Regions from separate parts of the Homo sapiens genome. Here regions 2 and 3 are each linked to region 1. The links are contacts of gene promoters, found by promoter capture Hi-C in blood cells and fetal thymus (Javierre and others, 2016). All regions are on one chromosome and are shown on one strand. The core of a region is centred on a gene start or on the middle of the fragment in contact, and the rest is flanking DNA. Distances in the headings are between cores, read along the strand shown.

The links. Contacts are between HindIII fragments. The CHiCAGO score rates a contact against its expected background, and 5 or more counts as called.
Region 2: a fragment that was not itself captured here is called in contact with the fragment with the promoter of MATN3 in region 1 in 1 of 17 cell types (M2 macrophages); the score reaches 5.2 in M2 macrophages.
Region 3: a fragment that was not itself captured here is called in contact with the fragment with the promoter of MATN3 in region 1 in 3 of 17 cell types (M0 macrophages, M2 macrophages and M1 macrophages); the score reaches 8.3 in M0 macrophages.

What each region holds. Positions count from the first base shown.
Region 1 is chr2:20,010,778-20,014,953 of GRCh38, forward strand. MATN3 (matrilin 3) reads right to left here and starts at 1,891. Exons shown (of 8, transcript NM_002381.5): 1 at 1,632-1,891. The coding sequence starts at 1,854. RefSeq lists an enhancer at 995-1,607. The HindIII fragment of the contact is 3,809 bases long and covers 421-4,176 here.
Region 2 is chr2:20,264,526-20,268,701 of GRCh38, forward strand. The region is part of intron 13 of PUM2 (pumilio RNA binding family member 2); the gene reads right to left. Among named protein-coding and RNA genes, the nearest start is that of SDC1, 41 kb to the left of the region's middle. The HindIII fragment of the contact is 7,281 bases long and covers 1-4,176 here.
Region 3 is chr2:20,240,341-20,244,516 of GRCh38, forward strand. It overlaps the pseudogene DRG1P1. Among named protein-coding and RNA genes, the nearest start is that of SDC1, 17 kb to the left of the region's middle. RefSeq lists silencers at 795-941, 1,976-2,205. The HindIII fragment of the contact is 3,794 bases long and covers 599-4,176 here.

The DNA.
Region 1 (4,176 bases), core at 641-3,140:
TCTCAGGTAATAAATGTGTGTTGTCTTAAGGCACTAAATTCACAGTAATTTGTTACAGTGGCCATAGAAAACTAATACCTGAGGCTTGACCATGGTGGCAGAAAATTCTGTGAACATCTGGTTCCTTCCTGACTGGTACTCCGCATCAATCATTAGTTGTTTTTGAATCTCACTCCCATTTACTAAATAGCAGCAATTTGATTCCCAAGAACAAAGAAAGAATCTGAATCTCCTAAAATGTTCCCATACTCATAATACCACTGAGTCCTTACAGTCCTGCTAGAAATAAAAATCCATAGCGAAGCTTAGCAATTTCTGGTTGCTAAAAGGAGATAATTTGGAACAGGGTGGAATCTCGCATTTATTAATGGGTTATCATTCATGATCAGGTTCGGACTCTAGGTAATGAAAGACCAGTAAAGCTTAGGGGGACATGGCCACCTGGTGCTGAATCTCTCCTTCCTCTTCCAGTCCCATCCCAGAGGGAGGCAGGTCAGGACTAGAGTAAGATTAACTTCCAGAAGAAAGGCTTTCCCTCAATTCCCGGCCTGGAGCAACCAGCCACCAGCTGAATCTAGCCCTGTGGACCCCGGTACCTCCTGCCTTAGCAGCAATGCTTTTGCCATTTCAAATCTGCCACTTCAAATACGGGGACTGAGTATTTGAGTCAGGAAAGAGTCCCTTGAGCTCCTTCTCAGCTTATCCAGAAAGATGCAGAAGGGGATAGACAATTGAAATCAGCCTGAGGCATGCAGCGTGGCTGGCCAAATGAGACTGCATACCCAGAAATGGCCTGGCACAGACTCTTTTTAGCAAGACTGAAGCTGCGCTTTTTGGAAATGAAGATACAATCTTATGTAAACCATATTAAGAGGTTGGTAGGCTGGGGCAGTGGAAAGAGACCTTGCTTGGGATTTCGGAGCCCTGAATTTTATTGTGGCCTCTGATACTGATTCACAGAGTCCCTTCAACTTGATATGCCTCAGTTTCCCTTCATGTGCTGTCAGGGGCTGTGTCAGACGACCTGCCCGCTTCGCTGCACTATGAGCTTTGCTCTGCTTCAGGAATCAATTGCTGACCAAAAAGAGAAATAGAATTGTTCGCCAAAGACCCAGAGTGTCTTGATCCTGGGGTATCCTACGGCTCCTCGGATCTCCTCCTGGTCTCACACCCGCATCCCTTACCTTCCAGTCTGAGGCAGCCTGAGGACTGTGGGAGGGGAGGAAAGATCACGCCCTGATATTGGATGGAGATGGAGAGATTCCAAGAGAACTAACAGCAGAGTCTCAGGAAGGGTTTGCTCACTGAATGGAGAGGTCAGGACTGGGACGGAGCTTAGCAGCAGCCGCTGGGCAGCAGCCCCTGCGCTCCCCAGCTGCCCTGTGCTCCTGGCCGAATCACAGGGGAGTGAGAGCTTCAGGAGACCCACATCTCTAGCCTGGACACATGAGTGATATTGGGCATCTCCCTCCCCTTCTCTGGACCTCAGTTTCCCCCACAGGATTCATCCGGGAGGGGCCTCTTTCCCCCGCACCACGGTCGGCCTGAGGCCGGGATGAAGCGCGCTTGGTGGATGCCCTGGGCTTCTCCTCGTTCGATGCTCACGCGTCCCTCCCGCCGCCCGCCTGTACCTGCACCGCGGGCGCGGCCAGGCTCGCTGGTCCCGGAAGCGGGCGCGCCGTCGGGAGCCGCAGGAGAGGGGCGGCGTCCAGGGCTGCCCCCGGGACCTCGGGTCTCCAGCCTCCGGAAGCCCGGGCGGGCCACGGGGTCGGGGGCGGCGGAGGGCAGCAGCAGCAGCGGCCAGAGCAGCAGGAGGAGTCCCGGGAGGCGGCGCGCGGGGGCCGGGCGCGGCATGGTGGGCTCCGTGGGCCTGGTGGTGTCCGTCGGGGGCCAGGAGCCCACGCGAGGCTCGGATTTAAAGGTCCCGCGGCCTCGGGCCCCGCCCCGCCCCGGGGCCTCGAGCGCCAGGCCGGCCCGGCGAACCCCGCCCAAGGCCAACAAGGAGCCTTGTCCGCGCATTCCAGCGGCAGAAACGGAATGTCTGGGCGAGGCGGCCAGCGGCGCGGTGGTCACCTCCCGCCCCTGCCCTAAGCCCCGAGCCGGCTGCAACTGGGTGGGCTCGGCTGCTGTCGCAACCTCCGTCCTCCCAGTAACACCGGGGCAGGGGGGGCAGCCATCCGCGGCTGCAGCCTGCCCGGCCCTCCACTCTCCCTCCCACCCCAGCGGGGCCTGCGCCCCAGGTACGGGATGGGGACCCCTGGGCTCTGCTTTCCCTTCTGCCACTGGTTTGCCCGACTGGGGCTGAAGATGAAACCCTGCTCCTAGCTCTACATTCCTTTCCTCAGCCAAGTAACCCAAGTTTTGCTGTGGGCTCTTGTTTAAAAAAAAAAAAAGAAAGAAAAGGCCTCACAGATTCTAGGGGCATGAATAGAAACGCTTTCATCCGAGCTTCAAATATCCACAAACATTTGAACTTATATTACCGGGAATAGAAAGTCAAACATACATTCCCCAGAGAGCCCCGTTAGCTGGAAGGACAGCCTGTACCAACACAGGCTTCAAAGGCTCTCCCGAGGCCCCATTTCCTCTCCGGAAGAGTTAGCATGGTACAGGGCTGGAGGCTGCCAGGGGACCCCCATGGAACTCACTGTCTGTGAGAAGGAGATTTGCATAAATGTGGTGTCTGTCTACGGGAATGTGGTGGATTTAGGAAAGAGATACTGACTGCCTGCGGAGACCAGGAAGACTTCTAAAACCAGGTGACATTTGAGCTGCGTCTTAAAACAATGGGCGCGAGTTCCAACAGAGCCTATCTGGTCGTCCTATTTCACTATTTTCCCTCTACAAGTGATCCTCCTCACACGATCCTAAACCTCACTTCTCATATTTGTACCCCATGCTGGTAGCAGCATTATACACAATAGCCAAGAGGCGGAAACAACCCAAGTGTCTCTCTTTGTGTGAATGGAAAAGCAAAATGCAGTATCTACGTACAATGGAATACTGTTCAGCCTTAAAAGGGAGGAAATTTTGGCAGATGCTACAAAATGGATGAACCTTGAGAGTATTATGTTAAGTGAAATAAGCTAGTCACAAAAAGACAAATACTGTATGATTCCATTTACATGGGGAATCTAGAGTAGTCAAATTCATAGAGACAGAAAGAATGGTGGTTAACAGGAGCTGAGGGGAAGTGGGGATGGGGAGTTGTATAATGTATCAATGACATTGGGCAGTGATAGTCACACTGAGGGAAAAGGTCACTCAACTCCCACTGAGAACTCACCAATTTAGAAGGACCTTAGAAGAAACGAGAAGTTTGTAATAATGGGAAGAGGACACTAAGAAGTTTGAAAGAAACTATGCCAAGAAGAGGAGGGATTGATAAATACAGTATTTGCAAGCTCTGGTGGACATTTGTCTTTCGTCTTGCTTTTAGAATGATCCCCAAAGCCTTTGAACCCTACATTAGTCAGGGTTCTTGAGAGAAACAAAACCAATAAATTTTATATACACATACATATAGAGAGAGGGTGGGGGGAGTAATTGAGATTATGAGGGATTGGTTCATGCGATTATGAAGGCTGAGAAGTCCCACAGTCTGCTGTCTGCAAGCTGGGGGCCCAGGAAAGCCAGTGGTGTAATCCAGTCCAAGCCTGAAGGCCCAAGAGCAGGAGAGCCAATGACATAAGGCCCAATCTGAGTCCAGAGACCCAAGAACCAGGAATGCTGATGTCCAAGGACAGGAGAAGCTGGTTGGCCCAGCTCCAGCAGAGAACACATTTGCCTTCCACTGTCTTTTTGCTCCATTCAAGCCCTCAACAGATTGGATGATGCCCACTCCACTCACATAGATGAAGGTGATCTTCTTTGCTCAGTCTACCGATTCAAATGCTAATCTCTTCCAGAAACATCCTCACAGACACACCCAGAAATAATATTTAATAGCTATCTGGGCATCCATTAGCCCAGTCAAGATGACACATTAAAATTCACCATCACAAATACCTTCCTAAATTTAGGGATTTCCAACTTCATGAGTCAGCACCTCCCCAAGTTGACTCCAAGAACTTGCTTCCCCAGCATCTCTTGCAGCTAGGATGTACATAAGTGGCCCAGTCTTCATCGATCATATGTGGTGTCTATGCCAAGCAGCAGTGACTCTAGGTCTCCCAT
Region 2 (4,176 bases), core at 996-3,495, 250 kb after region 1:
AGAGCAGTCAATAGAAATAAAAATAAATACATGCAGGAAATTTTTAAAATTACAATTAACAGTTTAAAAGTACTTGACAGTGTCCTTTTAAAAAAGAAAAATGTATAGATAGTTGTAAAATACACATTAGTAGAGTTCAGAAAAACAAAATCCACTACCAGCATCATGCTATTATTATATGCAAAATCTATGCAGAGTAGTACTATATATACAATCCAGGCCACAGGGTAGAGATGGTCCCAAGGATACACTGTCAGTGCAAAGCTATACGGAGGTATTAAAGGTCGAAAAGGACTACAAGGACAGAGAGCAGTAAAACAGTCAAATCCTGGAGAGTAAATTGGGTTAGAACATTCCTCTTTCACTTTCTGTCCCTACTGTCCTAGCTTTACTTTTTTTCATTGAACTTCCTATTACATAGCATATTATGCATTATTTATTTGAATCCCCAGCCCCATCTCCAATCCAAGAGCCATAAAATTAATTTACATGCTAGCTACCTGGTGCCTGGAACAATGTCTAGACCAGCCTGACCAACATGGTGAAATCCCACCTCTACTAAAAATACAAAAAAAAATTAGCTGGGCGCGGTGGCGTGCACCTGTAATCCCAGCTACTCAGGAGGCTGAGGCAGGAGAATCGCTTGAACCCGGGATACGGAGGTTGCAGTGAGCAGAGATTGCACCACCGCAGTCCAGCCTGGGTGCCAGAGCGAAACCGTCACAAAAAAAAAAAAAAAGGCATGTAATTTAAGAAGCTATCTTACACACCAAAATCACTAAGATCAAATTCTTGTTTGGTCCAGTTATACTTAACTATCTCAGCACCCATGCATGATATTCAAAACGTTCAAGAGTTCAGTGTTTCAATACTGTCTCACTACTGCCAGCCTTTCCACTTCCATTATTTGTTTACGTATTTCTAACTGTTCGTAACAATAATTGATCACTAGCCCATCTGATTCTTTAAAATTGGGTCCTTATCACATCTGCACAGCCACTGGGTTTTCTCTAGCATCTTTGCCCTTTTAGAAGGGCAGGGGTGCTTTGCTTATCATTTCAATTTGGTTAAAATTTTTTCTTAATCAGCTGAATTTAAGATTCACCAATCCAATTTTATACACATCAATTGTATTTTTCCTTTCAAAGTCCATTTTTGATGATGTCACTTTATGATAAAAACCTACAGCATCCTGATAAGAGTACTTGCTCTAAGATCTTCAACCTAGTTTTCAAGTCATTAATCCAAACCTATTTTTCACACAAATTTCTTAGTAGTACCCTAACTGTTCACATCCCCCACCCCACTTACTCGTTACTATTTCTTATCATTACCTCAAACACCCTTAATGCATTAAAGATTTTCGACACCAAATTCAAAATACGTACTCACCCCAGGAAATGAAGAAGCCGGTTTTATTTGGTACCTCCCAAATATCCTGCCAATAAGCAACAGGAATTTCTCCCATATCTAGGTATTCTTTTATTGATATTCTATCAGCTCCTAACAACAGAACTCCTGTGCACATCGTATACAATATCTAATAATATTACACTGCCTTGAATTTTAAAAAACCATAGACATTCAGTTCTAGAAGACTAAGTGGTCTTCTCATATATGAAATTTACAAATTTGGCCAGGCGCGGTGGCTCACGCCTATAATCCCAGCATTTTTGGGAGGCTGAGGAAGGCACATAGCTCGAGGTCATGAGTCTGAGACCAGCTTGGGCAACATGGCAAAACCCCATCTCTACAAAAAATACAAAAATTAGCCAGGAGTGGTGGTGTGTGCCTGTAGTCCCAGCTACTTGGGGAGGGTGAGGTTGCGAGGATCGCTTGAGCCTGGGAGGCAGAGGTTGCAATGAGATGAGATTGTGCCACTGCACTCCAGCCTGGACAACAGAGCAAGACCTTGTCTCAAAAACGAAACAAAACAAAACAACAACAACAACAACCCCCCCACCAAAAAAAAAAAAAGAGAAAAAGAAAAAAATATTCTCCAGAAACTAATTCACTGAAAGGACGAACTATCACCAATTAATTTCACCCAGGGAAGCATACCTTTTCTCTCACAAATAAGTGTGTAAAACCCAATTTTTAACATACATTAGACATTTTAAATTTTGTTGTCTAAATATTGAAAGCAGGTCATCTAAAATATCTGGAGATTGAGACATTCTATGAAACAGGCCTATACCCTTTAAAAATGTCAAGGTCATAAAAAACAGAAACAGTTCGAGATTAAAGAAAAGAGCAGTGATGAAAGTAATCCGTGATCCTCAATTTGACAATGGGCCCCCATTGTCAATCTCCCTTTCTCTTTCTTATAAAGGTAATCAGTGTGATAAGTAGCAAAGTTGGAATAAAGTTGGCTGCTTTGATTAGTGGTTTATCAGTGTTAATTTCCTGACTTCAGAAATTGTGGTTATATGAAAACATATACTTACTGTCAAGAAACATACACTAATGTACTTTTGAGTAAGGGACATCATGCCTGTAACTTTTTTTTTTTTTTTGAGACAGGTCTCACTCTGTCACCCAGGCTGGAGTGCAGTGATGCAATCTTGGCTCACTGCAATCTCCCCTTCCTGGGTTCAAGTGATTCTCCTGCCTCAGCCTCCCGAGTAGCTGGGATTACAGGTGCGTACCACCATGCCCGGCTAAGTTTGTATTTTTTTTTAGTAGAGACGGGGTTTCACCATGTTGGCTAGGCTGGTCTCAAACTCCTGACCTCAAGTGATCTGCCCACCTCAGCCTCCAAAAGTGCTGAGATTACAGAGGTGAGCCACCACGCTGGCCCACTTGCAACTTCCTTTCAAAAGTAAACCCAAATAGTGTTGTGGATGAGGGGAAGAAGAGAGGGAGAGAGAATCATACAGCCAATGTGATAAAGCGGTAACATCTGGAAAACATGGGTGAAGGGTATAGTTTTGCAATTTTCCCATTAGTCTCAAATTATCCCAGAATTGGTTAAAAACAAACACATAAACAGGTCATCCATATTCATACTTCTGCTGCTGGTAGTCTAAAAGCAGCTATGTTCTGCACCAAAAGTATTAAAAGAGATAAGGTCTTTTCATTTCGTCATTCAGTCCCCACTATCATTCATGACTGTTTAATCACTATCTGCCTAAGAGTGTATATAGGACATGTAGATCAGTACTATAATTCCACAGATGAGGTCACTATGGTCCAATGGTCCAATGGTCCAAAAGGTATGGGACATGCAGCTAGTCAGCCAAGACCCTTAGGCCAGAGCTTATCTCATACGACAGTGTGCCAATCTTCTGTGCTATTTACATCTTTCATGTTCATTCATGAGAACTTTAATTGGTTCCAGGACCCACACAAGAAACCAAAAATCTGTGGAAGCTGAACTCCAGTAGTTTAGCCTTATGTAAACTATGGATACGAAAGGCAAGACCTCCGTATCTACAAGTTTCACCTTTATCCAAGGATGCAGAATCTGTGGAGATAAAGCAGGTCCTCCGCGGGGCAAGGGGTGCTGGGGGAGACCGTAAGTGAAACCACCACAAAATAAAGAAATCTGTCTAGCCTTCATTTTTCATTATTTTCTACCCTCTGGGATTGGAATGACAGCTACTCAATCTATGAGGCCTGTTTAAGAATACAGATTCCTGACCCTTACTTAAGACATAGATAATTACTCCTTCTGGAAAATCCACCTGAAGGATATTCTGATAGAAGAGTATGGGGACTAATTAATTAGAATAAAAATAATTTAATTCTTCATTTTACAACAGATTTTCAACTAGTAATTGCAAATAAAAATCAAAGTAAGTATGCCCCATGCGGTGGCTCAGGCCTGTAATCCCAGCACTTTGGGAGGCTGAGGTGGGCGGATCACTTGAGGTTAAGAGTTCAAGACCAGCCTGGCCAACACAGTGAAACCCCATCTCCACTATATGTATGTGTAAAAAAATTAGCTGGGTGTGGTGGCGTACGCCTGTAGTCCCAGCTACTCGGGAGGCTGAGACAGGAGAATTGCTTGAACCCAGGAGGCGAAGGTTACAGTGAGCAGAGACTGCACCACTGCACTCTAGCTTGGGCAATAGAGCAAGACCCTGTCTAAACAAACAAAACAAAACAAACAAAATATATATATATATATGTATGTCAGATACATTTAATACAGCTCATGCACACAGGGTGAAT
Region 3 (4,176 bases), core at 1,246-3,745, 230 kb after region 1:
TCCACCACATCAATGAGGTCATCAGCTGTAGCATCACTACGTAGAGTCACATCGGCATTATGAATCTTGTATTCAGCCAGAATGCTCTTCACAGTTTCAGCATCCAGCTCACTCTGTGGGCAAGTGGCTGTGAGATGAATGCCTCCCTTGTCCTTCTTCTTAAAGCCATTGTTGGGGGGCGGTGGTTGCTGTTCAAGTGAATGCCAAAGACTTCCAGCTCATTTTCAATTATCTTCTTATGTCCCAAAGGTTTCAGGACATCCAGAACAATCAGGATCAAGTTACAGGTTCGGGCCACTGCAATGATCGACGACCTCTACCTTTCCCATCCCTGGCACCTTCAATAATACCTGGGAGATCCAGGAGCTGGATTTTGGCACCTTTGTATCTGATGACACCAGGCACAGTGCTCAGAGTAGTGAATTCATAGGCTGCCACCTCAGAATATACCCCTGCCAGGTTACTAAGCAGTGTCGACTTCCCCACAAATGGAAAACCAACAAATCCAATTCAAGCATCACCTGTCTCGGCCACATCAAAACCTTCTTCTGCACCTCCACCACCACCACCACCCTTTGGAGTAGTGAGTTCTCGACGAAGCTTAGCAAGACGAGCCTTAAGCAGCCCCAGGTGGTGTGCTGTGGCCTTGTTGAGTCCAAGCCATCTCCTCTTCTGTCTCCGCGATCTTAGCTAGGGTGCTGCTCATCGTGGCGAGTACCCTGTGGCCTCCACACTGACTGTCTCCCTTCACACACCCGCGGGCAAACTAGCTCAAGTATAATGCTTTTCAAAAGTAACTCAATGAACTTGGGAGTGTAGGCCTCGGTACAGTGGCCCACAGACCCCTGAGAGCACCATTGTGTGACAGCTCTTCACCGAGAGACACCGCCTTTAAAAACGCGTTTAGGGCCGGGCGTGGTGGCTCATGCCTGTAATCCCAGCACTTTGGGAGGCTGAGGCGGGCAGATCACGAGGCCAGGAGTTTGGGACCAGCCTGACCAACATGGTGAAACCCCGTCTCTACTAAAAATACAAAAATTAGCCAGGCATGGTGGCGTGCGGGTGTAATCCCAGCTACTCGGGAGGGTGAAGCAGGAGAATCGCTTGAACCCTGGAGGCGGAGGTTGCAGTGAGCCGAGATTGCGCCACTGTACTCCAGCCTGGGCAACAGAGCGAGACTCCATCTCAAAAACAACAACAACAACAAACAAAAAACAAAACAGAAAAACGCGCTTACTTCCTACTGGCTTTACAGTGGTGAGCATTACCTAAGCACCTAACTTCAGGCTTTGGGGTAAAGAGAGAGAAACACACAGTCTGGCCTTCCAACAACTCACAGTGTGGGTGGAGAAACGTAAGAAAACAAGCCATTGCAATAATTTGCCATCACCGCCATCATGACCTTGTGCCTGGAGGAGCTGTCCCTGGAATCTGTCTAGGGAAGCTCCAGGGCTGGCTCCAGGAGACGAGGAGGAACTGGCTGGCCAGAGACAGGGGCAGTAGGGTTGTCAGATTTAGCAAATAAAAACAGAATGCCCAGTTAAATTTGAATTTCAGATGAACATTTTTTTTTAGTATAAAATGTATAATTATGTCCTATGCAATGTTTGGGATTTATTTATACGAAAAAATTTAGTCGCCCCACCTGTGGCTTTAGGGCCGACTTGTTCAGGAAGGGAAGAGGAAGAGCACAAGAAGGTTTGGTGCAAGAAGATGGGTTCGGTTCCGGACATGTTTGGCGAAACGGGGCCAGTGGCCACGTGACTGGAGATGTGCGATTCCAGGCTGCAGGATGTCAGGGCTCGGGCTTTAGGGGCGAGGCCTGGGGTCCGCGGTGGTAGGATGTTATGGGAAGTGCCCTGTGATGAGGCTGCAGGCGGTCGTACATGGCAGTTGAGTGGGATGGGTAGAGTTCTTTCCTTGTTCGAGAAGGCAGGGTGTGTCTGAGCAATCCTGTTTAGAAAGATCAACTCCAAGTAATTTAGACGAAGAAACTTCTGGAGCTGGACGGATCCCCCAGGGTGCGCCGCGCCTGGACTGGGAAGGGCCCCCGGACCCGCGGCGCAGGGGAGGGCCGGGCCGCCAGGGGGCGCTCTCGGCGGACGGGGCGGGGGTCCCCCTTGGTGTCTCCCAGGCAGCTTCGCAACAGCCCTGCTGGATTAGGCCCCAATGAGCAAACTGAAGCCCGGGTGGGGAAAGGGCGGGGGGGGGGGGGCTTGAGGGCGTCACCCAGGCGGGTCAGTTGCTTTTTTAAAAAAAATTATTTTTATTTTTTTTATAGGGAAGGCAGGGGCATCTCGCCATGTTTCCCAGGCTGGCCTCGAACTCCTGGACTCAAGCGAGCCTCCGCCTCGGCCTTCCAAAGTGCTGGGATCACCACCGCGCACAGCCACTTTTGCAGCTTTCTAAGGCCGCCCCCAGGCCCTTGCCACCCTGCTGCGTGAGCCAGGCTTGGGCCTGTGGGGAGGGCTCTAGGTCACCTGGTGGCTGCCGTTGTGTCTACAGCTGCCTCTTCCTGTGACAAAGCTGACTCTTTGTCTTCCAGGTCCCTTCTCTAGTTTTCTACCCTACTGTAGAAGAGGGTGGGTAATGGAATATAGATGAAGCTGTCACCCTTCCAAACTCTGGGGGGTGACCCCCTCCCTCCTCTGCTCACAGGTGCCTTCCAAGCCCAGACTCCAGTGCTCAAACCAGAACTGACTTTTGAAGGAGCAGGGCAGAAGAGGACTCCCAGACACCCCTCCTCTTCTCCAGGGCGAGCCCATACACGTGCTTTTGTCCTCATCCCTGCCATAGGAAGGGGCCCACCAGGTGTGACCCGGCTTTCCAAGGCTTCTGGCCATAAAAGGCCAGGGGTGGGAATAAAGCAAGAAAGAGATGAGACTCCGCCCATGTCTCGGGGAGCCCCTCAGCTCTGTAACTGGCACTGCTACCTCCCCTGCCTCCAGTCCCTCTCTACTGCTGCTCTGCCAGCCTGTGCTGGGTCCTCCACACCACCGCACTTGTCACTCACCTGCTCAAGAATCTGTGATGACCCCTATTGTTAACTGAAGCATTGCTTGTATCAAGAATCTCATTCTGTTTCTCCCTCCACTGGGGTGTGCACCTCTTGAGGGCTGTATCCTCAGCATCAAGAATACTTGACACAGGCCGGGCACGGTGGCTCATGCCTGTAATCTCAGCACTTTGGGAGGCCAAGGTGGGCGGATCACTTGAGGTCAGGAGTTCAAGACCAGCCTGGCCAACATGGTGAAACCCCGTCTCTACTAAAAATACAAAAATTAGGCTTAGGTGGGCATGGTGGGCCACGCCTATAATCCCAGCTACTTGGGAGGCTGAGGCAGCAGAATCGCTTGAACCTGGGAGGTGGAGGTTGCAGTGAGCCGAGATTGTGCCACTGCACTCTGCACTCTAGCCTGGGTGACAGAGCAAGACTCTATCTCAAAACAAACAAAAAATGAAACCTGACGCAAAGTAGTTGCTCAATAAATAAGACTATGAAAATGCACTGGCTGCTGCACCCACCTTGCTCTCAATCCCCCAAAGCCATCCCCTCATCCTCTTCATTTTACCTTTCCCTTCCAAGCCCAAGGCACTGATTAGTTTTGAAATCTTGATTCCTGTCTAGATTTAAAGGCTTTGAGTTAGGAATTACTTTTTTTCCCTCCCGCCTAGGACCTCATGCCTTCTCAAAAAATAGGTAAGACCAGCCAGACACAGTGGCTCATGCCTGTGATCTCAGCACTCTGGGATGCTGAGGCAGGAGGATCACTTGAGTCCAGGAGTTTGAGACCAATTCAGGCAACATGACAAGACTCTTGTCTTTACCAAGAAATTTAAAAATGAGCTGGGCACGGTGGTGCATACCTATTGTCCCAGCTACTCAGGAGGCTGAGGTGGGAAGATCGCTTGAGCCTGGGAGGTTGAGGCTGCAGTGAGCTGTGATCATGCCAGCGCACTACAGCCTGGACGACAGAGTGAGACCCTGTCTCAAAAAACAAAACAATACAAAAGATAAGACTGAATGTTCTCCATATGGTCCTATTTGGTCATGGAATGATTTGTGGTGGATTTTCCTCCACTCTTCAGCATTCCTTCCATAACCTGTTTCTGGCCATGAGCTACATGCTGTTTACACAAAAAAGATATGATCCTGAACTGGGTGGAAGGCTTCTG